2 separate regions of the Homo sapiens genome follow, and region 2 is linked to region 1. Evidence: promoter capture Hi-C in 16 types of primary human blood cells and fetal thymus (Javierre and others, 2016). All regions are on one chromosome and are shown on one strand. The core of a region is centred on a gene start or on the middle of the fragment in contact, and the rest is flanking DNA. Distances in the headings are between cores, read along the strand shown.

What was found. Contacts are between HindIII fragments. The CHiCAGO score rates a contact against its expected background, and 5 or more counts as called.
Region 2: a fragment that was not itself captured here is called in contact with the fragment with the promoter of CD34 in region 1 in 3 of 17 cell types (M1 macrophages, naive B cells and megakaryocytes); the score reaches 5.2 in M1 macrophages.

Annotation. Positions count from the first base shown.
Region 1 is chr1:207,907,454-207,913,750 of GRCh38, reverse strand. CD34 (CD34 molecule) reads left to right here and starts at 2,626. Exons shown (of 8, transcript NM_001025109.2): 1 at 2,626-2,749. The coding sequence starts at 2,671. It overlaps LOC107985253 (a long non-coding RNA gene), which reads right to left and starts at 3,383. Exons shown (of 4, transcript XR_001738424.2): 1 at 3,194-3,383; 2 at 2,913-3,096. The HindIII fragment of the contact is 7,449 bases long and covers 1-5,118 here.
Region 2 is chr1:207,949,841-207,955,921 of GRCh38, reverse strand. No RefSeq gene overlaps it. Among named protein-coding and RNA genes, the nearest start is that of LINC02767, 6.1 kb to the left of the region's middle. The HindIII fragment of the contact is 4,934 bases long and covers 1,972-6,081 here.

The DNA.
Region 1 (6,297 bases), core at 1,377-3,876:
CCTTACTTTTTTAACATCAGACATATTTGACATAGGATGAGGTCCTCTTTTAGGTTGATTGACATGATGCGTGTGTATTTTGGGGAGGGGTGAGGTAAGGGATGTTTAATAGTAAAAGTGGTTGTGACCTCCAAGGGTCTGTAAAGGGCCTGAGACAGCCTCTGACTCAGTGTATTTCTGTTGTATCCTCCATTTTGTGCGGTGTAGCTAACATCTTCTAGCAACAGCTTATGAAGCAGGAGAGCAGAGAATTGAGGAGCAGCCCAGAAAGGCTAGAACTTTGAAGAGACTACATAGCTCAACTCTACCTGGCCTGTGAGGAAATGTAAGGCTGGGGTCCCTGGGTACCCTTGTGTCCAGTGGCCAGAACGTGTGTTTGGGGGTGGCTTGGGCAAGGGTGTGTGTGCTTGGGGTGATGAGTCTCAGTGACCCTGGAAAATATGAAGAGTGGCCAATCACTGTCTAGCTTTGTAGTTCTGGGGCTATCCATAACCTTTGCAAGCCAGAGAAGAAACAGCTCTGGTCTCTCAGAGGAAGGGATTTGCCAGCCTCCCATATCCCCTACTTCTATTTTTCCTCCCTGAAGCCTGACATCCACTTCGCCCTTGCTCCTTGTACCCAGCAAGTGTTCTTTCTATACCAGGGCTTCTTGAACCTCAGTGTGCATGAGTCATGGAGAATACTTACTCAAAGTACAGATTCTGGCCCTCACCCTTGATTCTGTGTAGACCATGCTTTGAGAAAACTCTGCTCCACAGAATCATTCTCTCTCTCTTTGCTCCCAAAGCTAGTTAAGAAGTTCAGGTACTAAAGAAAGACAAGTTATTTCCCCTGTTTCCCGTGGTCCAGCTATGGGAGACAAATGGTATTTAAAGTAACCAGAAAAAAAAAATCTGGAAATGGAAGTTAAAGTGGACCAAATTAGCTTTCATATCTAGCAGGGATTACAACCCCACATTTGTTCTCAACTGCACACTGGATGCCTGAAGCAGACCGAGCGGTCCCTGGAGCTGAGGAAGTTGAGGGGAGTGGGGGGCCTGGCAGTGTTGGAACTAACTCCTTTTCCCTGTTAATTGGGAGTCCCAAGGACCAATGACTGATTTTAAAATGCATGTTTGCCACTCCTTCTGTCCCCAGGCCCTTGCCATCACTATGTGATCAGTTCTGAATCATCATTTGTACTTTGAAACAGATTCATACCATTCCGTTGTATTCAATCAAATTAGCATATCAGGCCTTTGCTCTTATTGTGTGATGAAAGACTTTGTTCCCTGTTTAAAGGAATGCTAGGCAACAAGACCAGAATAAGGAGATTTTGGGTTTGTTTTTAGACCTGGATCCTTCTCCTGTGCAACCCCAACGCATAGTAGGTTTGAGATGGACTATAAAGGTAAAGCTACTTTTATAATGCTAGAGTGTCTGCGGAGAAATCAGAAAGGACCACAGAGTGCTGGTCTGGCTTCTCTTTTTTCCCTTTAGGCTATGTGGTACAGACATCATGGAAGAGCCTGAACTGAGTATTTATAATTTCATGATTCTGCTCTGGATATCAGAGCAGCCTCTCCCAGGTTATACCTTATCTGATCCTCCCCTGGTGCCATCATCTGCCCAGGCTGGCTTCTCCTTTCTCCCGTCTCTACGTCCCCAAGACTAGGCTGCCTACCCGGCTCAGAGTTTCTTCTATTCAGTACAACCAACACCCAGAGGAACTGGTGAGGAACAGGAAGCTCAAGGATCTATCAAGTGGTGGAGGATGGAGTCACAGAAAGTCCTTTTTCTGATGGGAGAGCAAGGTGAAATCCCTAGTGGCTTAGACCCAGGGCTGGAGAGGGGATAACTGGTGAGAAGGCATCCAGGGAAGTCCTTTTTCTTTAGGATGATGGTGATGGGGAACTAAATGGGGAAATATGGAAGGTCACAGGAAAAGTTAACACAAGTTAGCAAAAAGTTAACATAACACAAAAAGGTCTTGCAGGAAAAAAAAAAGAAAAGAAAAGAAAGAAAAAGTCTCCAAGAATGGTTTGGACAGCCAAAATGAATACTTATAGTCACGTATACCTGCTCACTCCTGACGCTTCACTCACACACAGCACAGGATCTGGTGAGGCTATCACTAAATGTGCCACATTGTGGTTAAGTTTTACCTGATTAACGAAATGCTCACACTTCTAAACTGAGGTCCTTACAGTAGATTCCTTTTGCAAGATTGTTACTGGCTTACAACTTAAAAATAAAGGAAAATCACAAGGAAAGAAAAGTGGGGAAAAAATCGGAGGAAACTTGCCCCTGCCCTGGCCACCGGCAAGGCTGCCACAAAGGGGTTAAAAGTTAAGTGGAAGTGGAGCTTGAAGAAGTGGGATGGGGCCTCTCCAGAAAGCTGAACGAGGCATCTGGAGCCCGAACAAACCTCCACCTTTTTTGGCCTCGACGGCGGCAACCCAGCCTCCCTCCTAACGCCCTCCGCCTTTGGGACCAACCAGGGGAGCTCAAGTTAGTAGCAGCCAAGGAGAGGCGCTGCCTTGCCAAGACTAAAAAGGGAGGGGAGAAGAGAGGAAAAAAGCAAGAATCCCCCACCCCTCTCCCGGGCGGAGGGGGCGGGAAGAGCGCGTCCTGGCCAAGCCGAGTAGTGTCTTCCACTCGGTGCGTCTCTCTAGGAGCCGCGCGGGAAGGATGCTGGTCCGCAGGGGCGCGCGCGCAGGGCCCAGGATGCCGCGGGGCTGGACCGCGCTTTGCTTGCTGAGTTTGCTGCGTGAGTACCGCCCGCGCGCCGCGGCCGCTTGGCTTCGCCGCGGGGAGGGTGGAGGCTTTCTGGGAGGCTGAACAGCAGAGCAGAGTCTCACGGAGGGAAGGGACCCCTGCCCAACCCACGCACTGCCGCCCACAGCTGCTTCCCCCCGGGGCCAGCGCCTCACCTGGGAGCTGACGGGGGTGGGAGGGGAAGGGAAGGCCATCACCCCCGCGAGTGTGCGTTAGCCGAGGTGTGAATCGGTCAGCACGACTGGTTCCAATGGACTGAGATAAAGCGCTTTGGAGATGCCAGGGTCTCTTCTGGTTGCCAGAGGCGCGGAGTGCGAAGTTGCAGCCAGAACCGGGAGACTGGGGAGGAGAGAAGCAGGAAAAGTTTTGTGGCTCTTGGTTGATTCAGAAAGTATAGACACGGAGCGGATTGCTGGGAAGGGGCCGGTGTGCCCACCTTGCACAGGGACTGGGAGAGCCAGAAGTGGACATTAAGGAATTCGAGGGAAGCGAATCAGGGATGAGGCTCCAGGTCCCAGGCCAGGGGTGTTCGGAATGAACAGTCCGTGAAAAGGAAAAACAAAACCAAACAACCAACCAAACAAAAACCTTGCATTTAAGATTGGGAAGCTGAGTTTGAATTCCCACTTCAGCAACCCCACCGCGGAGGAGGTAGAAGTAGACAGAATTTGCTCTGCGCCCAGCCTCGCTCGCCTTACCAAAAACCGTCACCCCTGCACAAATTTCAAAACTTGTCACCTTTTGGAGTTTTCTTCCTCTGCCCCTGCTCCAAGTTCTAAAGCTAGTGGATGGGTTAGAACACTGCCCCCACTCACCTACACATATCCTTACTCTTAAGGTCTTGCTCTCACTTCGGTTAAAAAAAAAATAGGCACCCGGTAAATATTTATACTCGATTACTTTCCTTGGGGAATGACATTCTCCACCTCATCTCTTTGCACTTGGAAGGTTTGAAACTTTTGAAACTTTGTACATTGCTCTCCCTTTTGCTTACAGCACTCTAGGGCTCCCAATTCTGTACTCTCACTACATCCTAAGGGCCACCCACTGTGGCCCTGCAGAGTGACCTGGACTAGACCTCTTTGTTCCCAGTCTCCTCTGTTGTCCATCTTTGGGTCCGCCCAGCTGGGGACAGCTGCCCCTGGGCTGGAGGAAGCTCTGAGAGAAGTTTTGGGTTGCCCTGTTTGGCAGTCCTGGATGTGTGCTTTGGGGCAAGGAAAAGCTATCAATGAGGTTTCAAAATTCTAGAGTGGGTGCTAGACTAGGCCCTCATAACAGGAGTGAGTCGGCCGGGCGCAGTGGCTCACGCTTGCAATCCCAGCACTTTGGGAGGCCGAGGCAGGCAGATCATGAGGTCAAGAGATCGAGACCATCCTGGCCAACATGGTGAAACCCCATCTCTACTAAAATTACAAAAATTAGCTGGGCATGGTGGCACACCCCTATAGTCCCAGCTACTCGGGAGGCTGAGGCAGGAGAATCCCTTGAACCCAGGAGGCGGAGGTTGCAGCGAGCCAAGATCCTGGCACTGCACTCCAGCCTGGGAGACAGAGCGAGACTCCTTCTCAAAACAAACAAACAAACAAAAAACAAAAAACAAAAAAACAGGGGTGAGTTGGCCAGTGGTGCAGATTCCAATCAGATGCTCCATTCTCCTTTGGCTACACAGCTTGTGATGACCTGGTCCTCAGCCGAATGAGGTCCACCCTTTTCTTATTTCCTCAGCTGGTAAGTGCCAGTCTCGCCTTGGCCTGCCGAGGTTGGGGTTGGGGGAGCAACACAACCTTGGCAAAACTTTGGACTGATATGCTGAGAATATCCCAGCTTTTGGTGGGGAGGGATGAGGCACAAGGCCCCATTCCCAGCCTTGCCAGACTACTTGAGCCAATTGTAGTTTTATGCCCTTCCCAAGAGCTTTCTAGGGTTTTTGCTTGGATTTGTTTTGTTTTGTTAATACTAGGAGTCATTTTCAGTCCTGGGATACATTGTGGGATAAATGAGATAACTGAGTGTACCTTGAAATGCTACCATAGGGCCATTGCAGAAATGCTATTATTATTGTAAAATTTAGGGTAGAGGGGATTTCTGTGGTTTGTTTTCTCATCATTTACCCCAACAAAGAGCTTGTTTTGGGAAGTTCTTTTTTTCTGTCCCTTTGAGAAGGTGGCATGTGCATAGGCACTGCAACTAACCAGAAGTGGGCTGTCTTTGTTGGAAGTGGGGGAGATCACAGAGCAGAGTCAGGGTAAGGGGCTCAAGGGCCACCAGGCAGCACTGCCAGAGTGCTGGCTGGAGCAGGAAGCCTTTCAGGTAATTAGGGAACCCCTTTGTCAGGCTCAGGGTATCTATTTCCTCCAAGCTTTCCAAGGCCTGTCCCTATCCTCACTCTAACAACACCCCCAGGCCCTCCCCGTCACATTCCTCTTCTTCCTTTGGGTCCTTCGTGCCTGCTGACCCCACACCCATATCCTGTCCAGGGCTACATGTAAGAGGGGAAAAATAAAAGGGAAAAGAATTTTATCAGCTATTTTCCAGAGGGGAGAGGACTCCACCCTTTGAATCTCTGCCATATGGCGACAGAGGAGGAGCAGGCTTGGGGACCTCTGACTAATTCAGTGGTCCCCAGTGCTCCGCACTTGTAGACCCAACCCAGTTGGCACCACCTTTGCAGATGCATGTCTTCAGCAGCATTTCTGTTCGGCTGATAAAACACACAGGGGCCTGGGGCCTCTTTTTCTTATCCCTTTGGCTCCACCTCCTGGGCCTCCTCATTCCCTTGTCCTCATCTCCTTCCTTCGCAATCTTTGTCTCAAAAAGCTTAGGGCAAGAAGTGCCAAACTGCAGCAGATAAACTCAGCTGCAGAGTCCTACGAAAACAAATGAAAATGAGGAACAAATTCCACTTCTTACCGTTGGTCTCATTGCCTGATTTCCTTTAGACCCTGAGCTGGAGGGCCTGGGTTTACTTTCAGGGCTGGATGGTTACCCAACTCCACTCTCAGGTACTTGGGCCTCCCTCTCTCATTGACTTTGGTTGATCTAACTAAATGGCTTGCAGTGTGGAGAATTAAAAATAAGAAGGTATGGAAAAAGAACACAACACCACCCTCCAGAAGAAAATTCTCACAGTCGCCAGGGCTGTGAGAATTCCATATTTTTGTGGGCTTGGACTTCTCTAATGAGAACATTCTCTTCCCTCCTTAGCTAATAAATGAAAACATATTATCTATGACTTTTAGTCCCAGAGCTGGACGTTGTGCTAAGGAGAAAGATGCGTGCATGTTGGAAAGATGGAGAGACAAACAAATAGGGATGCATATAAAGGTGTACTTCTTAGTACCTGTGCTCTTGGAGTCCGTCGGAATGAGTTACTTCCCTTCAGATGCAACGGAAAAGGCCTTTGGGCTTAATTGGGAAGTAGGCTTCTTCTTTATTTGGAAAAATGAAATCAAACTGATACTTCTTAGAGAGGAGTGGCATCCCTAGGCAGCTGATTTAAGAAAATGTCTTAAGAGGTCTTTGAGTGACAAAGCCTAGAAC
Region 2 (6,081 bases), core at 3,189-5,688, 40 kb before region 1:
GGGTACCTAACGCTGCCCCCAAACACACTACTCAGAAAATATCCCTGCCTTCAGTGCACCCACCCATGCATCCTCACAGGAAGCAGACATTCTGCCGCTGCTGAAAATGTGCACGCCACACATGATGTTTGCATATGGCACTTTATGGGACACTTTTTAAGAGTTGTTTTGTTGTTTGAGTCCCTGTGAAACGCTTCGCAGTGCAGCACTTTGTTGGGATGTGCAAGCAGCAGCCACAGTGATGGAACCAGATGCAGATTGAAGAAACGACTGCCGCAGAACGTTTCCTAAAACAAAGGTTTTAAAAAACACATGGGACACAAGTGTTGAGAAGCCCAAGTGTGAGAGCACAACACCGCTTTCTTTCGCTGTATTCTTGGCATTCTCATAGTGTGTGTGATTCTCTAAGAACAAGTTGTCACGGGAGTGGAAGAGGTGTGAACTATGCTGCTTCTGTCACTTATTAGTTCTGTATCCTTAGGCAAGTGGTTTGAACTTCCTGAGCCTCAATTTGTTCATTGGTAAAATATGTCTAATAATACTTCCCCCGTAGTATGGCCATAATCCTTGTATACAGTAAGTCAGTGAAGAAAGTGTTGGACACATAATATAACATGTTAAAGCTGTCATTTTAAAAGATCCCTTCCCTGAGGCAGGTATTCTACCTTACTATTTAGAGGGAATCATGGTCAGAAGCACCAGACTATGGTATTGACCAGATCCTGTGATGTCTGTCACCCAGCTCAACAAATGAGGTTTCAGTGAGAATTCAGTGAGGTCCTCATTAGAAATGAGAAATGGCTGGGAGATGCCAAGTGGGTGGTGGGCAGTTGGGAGGATGACACTTTCATTAATGTTGATCTGTCCAGGATATGGAGAGAAAGTCACAGTAGCTTCCAGAGCCGAGCCCAAGTATAATGCATTATCTTATGCTACATAGAAAGTAGGATAGGACCAGGACCAGGCCTGTTACCGGCTAGGACCCTAAAGGAAAACACTCAAGTTCCCCATGGAGCAGAGACCACGACCACTGTTATCAGTTAGTGATTGCTGGCAAGCCACCCAGAACAGGAAGAGATGGGTCAGGAATGAGAGTAGGATTTTCAAGATTTGGGAGCCAAAGGACCTTTGGCAGCATGTAGAAAGGCAGATTTAAGAATTCTTGGGGCTAGAGTCAGGAATGGTCTATTACACACCTGAGAGTACCTGAAAGTCCAGTGAGGCTGTCTGAGGCCCCACTCAGAGAGGAAATCAACAATTAGTGTTGGAGAGGTTTTAGGGATCCCTACAGGCCTTACAGTAGGGGTTCTAGAGCCTGTGGTGTTACTTAAGATGGTAGAAAAAAAAAGCAGAGCCTGTGTACCTCAAATAGTATTTTTTCCAGAAGACAGAATTCTAAGATGTTTCCTCCCGCTTCCCACACTGACCCCCGTATACACACCCTACATAATCCCCAGGACTATGAATATGATGGATTTTCCTCCCATCATTAGGTTATATTAATTTGGCACAGTTAGCCTTAAGATAGATGATCTGGGTGAGCTGGACCTAATCATCTGAGCCTTTCAAAAGCAGAGAGTTTCTTCTAGCTTGTTGCAGAAGAGGAAGTGGAGATTTGAAGCATGAGAGGGATTTCAGGCTCCACTGCTGGCTTGAAGATGGAGGGGACCACCTGTTAAGAAATTTATGTGGCTCTAGGAGTTGAAAGCAGCCTCTAGCTGACAGCCAGCAAGAAAACAGGAATATCAGTCCTACAACCACAAGGAACTGAGTTTTGCCAAGAATAAGAATGGGCTTGAAGTAGAGTCTTCCTCAGAGCTTCCAGGTAAGAGGCCTGCCTGGTTAACAACTTCATTTTAGCCTTATGATACCCTGAGCAGGGAACTCAGCTATGCCATGCCAGATTCAAAACCTGCCTGGCCCACAGAACTGTGAGCTGACAAATCTGACAAATGGGTGTTATTTTAAGCTTCTAAGTTTGTGGTGATTTCTTATGTAGTAAAAGAAAGTGAATTCAAATCAGTGAAGAAATACATGGTTCAGAGTTAGGGCTAGAAATGTGTCAATCTTCATTAGATTTATACTTTGCTTTTTCCCACATTTATTTCCTTTTTATTTTCCGTTAGCTTCTTTATACATTTTTTTTTTGAAAACTCACTATCTGATTACTAGGAACCAGAAAGAATTTGACTACACCCAAGTGTTAAAAAAAAATAAGAAAATATTAGAAAAATATAAGGTCTACATCCTGCATCTGCCACTTAGTTTGTCTGGTTTTGGGAAAATGACTTCACCTCCTTACATCTTAGTTCCTCATCTATAAGATAGAGATAATAATGTTTACTTACTGTATTTAAGTCAGACTCAAGTCAGATAATGTATTTCAATGTGCTTTATAAAATAGACACCTGTATATATTAATAAATAAATGTGAGCTACTATTTTTATTCAGACAGAATAACCAGCAAGATGCTCAGGGCAGCAGGTGAGCCAGAGGCAGTGAAAGTCCCAGTTTGAAAACCTAGAAACCCGACAGAGAGGAAAAAATTAGTAAGTAGAGCCCCTTAGAGAAGGCAATGGGGAATAGCTGCAAGGGCTAGTTCTCCTCTTGAGTGTGCTTTCATTATGCAAGTAAAAATGAAAAAGCAGACTGAGAAACATGCTAGACTAATTCTCAGCCTCATCAAGAATAGAGTTTAAAATCCTAAGCAGAAAAAAAGTAATATGACCCCCCAAATGGCCAATTAAATTGCTTAGAGAGCAAAAGAAAAAAGGAAGCCACAACAGAATACATTATGTAATAAGGACATTACACAAAACGAATGAATGGAATCAAACACCCATAAAGCAGAGGAGAAGCAGAAGTCTTGCAGGAGATGTTATCAATGGCTCAAGATTAAATGTGCTTGTGCTTAAACAATGGTGTGTGAAACGTCTTAAACAGGAAAGGAATCCTTGGAAAGAAAGGCTGTCATCACTATGAAGCAGCATTTGAAAATTCAATCTATAAAATAACAAAGAAAATTAGACAAGAGGTGAATGATAAGCACACCCAAGGAGGACAAAAAGATGTAAAAGTCAGATGAGTTCTCCCAACTACCAACAGCATTCCAATTAAGAGGATGTTTACTGAGCATCAGATTACAGTAGCTATACAGAGAAATACTTTGGAGAAAATTCAAAAAAGAGAAAACCAGCACCAACACCCAATAACAACAAAGTGTTTTGTTTCCTGCGTCTTCCATCATTCACTGACAATGAAGGTGCATTTTAAAAATGTGAACCCAGGTAATATGAAAAAAAAAAACCCACAAATAAAAAAAGTAAAATGCCAAATATAGTTAAAGAACTAATTAAACATTTTCACAAGTACACAACGTTTTGTACTCCATCTACAGATGGACAAAACTAAGAACCATTTCCAACATGAGCAGATCCACGTTTAGGGTCTTCAGTTAACTTGACAATAGGGACAGGCTTGAGTACAAAGCTCTGCTCCTCCATTTGCCATTTGGGAGATGCTGGGCATGTTATCTAGCCTCTCTGAGCTTCAGTTTCTTGATCTATAAAACTAAGATAATGAACACACCATAGGCTTTTGGAGAGGATTAAATAGGATAATGTATATTAAATGGCTACCATATATAGTCAAAGCTCAAAAAATGATAATTAATTTAAAAATTAATTATCTCCCCAGTTGTATAGTAAAGGAGCTAACAAAATTCTCTCCAGGATTCTTTCCATCTTTAAAGTTTTGTGGTTTTGCCAATATTCAGTTTGGTGATTCCTCAAAAAGCTACACACAGAATCGCCATATAACCCAGCAATTCCACTCCTAGGCAGTTACGCAAAAGACTTGAAAGCAGGGACTCAAGCAGATATGTGTACACCAGTGTTCATTACAGCATTATTTACAATAGCCAAAATGTGGAAAATACCCGTGTCCATCAACAGATGAGTGAATAAACAAAATGTGGTATGTGCATACAATGAAGTCTGTTTCAGACATAAAGGAAGTTCTGATACATGCTACCACACGAATAAACCTTAATGACATTGTTCCAGGCAAAGAAGCCAAACACAGAAGGATAAATATTGTGCAATTCCATTTACATGAGATATCTAGAGTAGGCAAATTCATAGAGACAGAAAGTAGAGTTTACCATGAGCTAGGGAAGGAAGAATAGGGAGTTATTGCTTAATGGGTACCAAGTTTCTGTTTGGGCTGATGGAAAAGTTTTGGAGACATATAGTGGCGATAGCTGCACAACAGTATGAATGTCATTAATGCCACTAAATTTTGCACTTAAAAATTGTTAAATGGCATATTTAATGTTCTACACATATAAAACATGTGGTTATATTTATAAAACCACAAAAAAATCATGTAGTTCTATCTCAGACTCTTTCCCTGCAATATAACATCCAAATTAAAGAAATGAACGCTACTTGCATTTTTATATTTCCTGCAGTGATTAACGTGAGCTCTAGGATCAGTTTGCTTGGGTTCAGATCTTCCCTCTATCACTTACTACCATGTCACCTGGGGCAAGGTACTCAAAGTTTTTGAGCCTAGTTGCCTCATCTGTAAGATGGATATAATAATACCTACAACACAGAGTTGTCAAGAAGAAGCTGTAAAATGCTTACATTGTGTCTGGTACAAAGCAAGTGCTTACAAAAGACAGGTAGGTATTGTTATCCCTTGATAAGCATGCTCAAGTGGTAGTGGAAGGTAGAGGGAGTCAGACAGTAGAGTGCCAAATGATGCTGGGGCCAAATTTCCTATCACCCTTGACTCTGAGTTCCTAAGATGCTCCCACTGACATGATCCAAAGGTCTTGATGCTCTGACTCTAGCCCCAGATGATCATAAGACAACAAAGTACTCGAAGCTCTACCCAAGCCCACACCATCCCTCCAACTTAAGGGAGAGATATGGATCTAATCCTTTAGTAAACAGCACACACTGCTCTTAGAATCAAGTCCAAACAGTTGAATAAGGCAAGGTGCTTTACGATCTTGCCTGTTTACTTCTTTCATCCAAACTATCACTACACCTCACTTCACCCTTTATGCTCCAACCTTGCTGACTGCTTACAGCTCTGCCTGGAAGGCTCCTACCTCACCACTTCACCTGACCATCCCTTCTCCATCCTTTGGGTCTTCACTTGGACATCACCTCTTCCAGGCAGGTTTCTCTGACTTACCTGAGCTGAGTTAGATGCTCCTATGTGCTTGCATAATGCTCTGTCTTCTATTCCCCATCATTGCATACTGGTGTTACTGCCCATTTTCATGTGTCTCTCCAATAAGACTATAAGCAACTTGCACTATTAGCCATTTCATCCCCAGTATCTAGCCTGCAGTGCCTGGCTCATATAAACACCTGTTAGTTGAGTATGAATGAACCTGAATGGATGGAAGAATAGATGGATGGATAACCTGGTATTGGTTCTATAAATTGGATCAGGTTTTGAGATGGCAGTGTCAGCTCTTTTGCCTCCTTCAGACCTTTATCAGACTGTTAGGGAACTCTTGATATTGTGTCAATATTAATAGGGAATAGTAACGGACGGCATAGGTCCCAAACAAGGAAGGCAGGGTGTCTGTTAATTTTTTAGGACCTTTGCTGAACCCAACCATCCACTTTCAAATAGATTTATATACAAGTTTCCTTACCCTCTACCATCCAAACCTACCTGGTTCTTACCTTTCCTACTGCTGCTGATTACGGCATCACCCGAGCTGCTGAATTTTAAAATCCCTGTCCTTTTTGTTTCTTTCCGTAGCCCCCAATCATTATGGTCCCTCAGTCCAGTAATTTGACTTCCTATCTACACCCACTTTTCTATTCCTACTGCTACTACTACAAAGTGCTTTGTATAGAAACAAAGCTCTATTAAAGAATACATTTCCTCCACATTGTGAAATCATCAAGGGCACCTGGTAACATAACATCATTTAATACATAATACAGACCCAGGCTAGCCTCCTGTTTCTTTAGCAACTCTACAAACCAGCAATGTTAGACTAGTCAGATTCTCATAGCAGATACAGAACCAACTTTAAATGGCCTTGC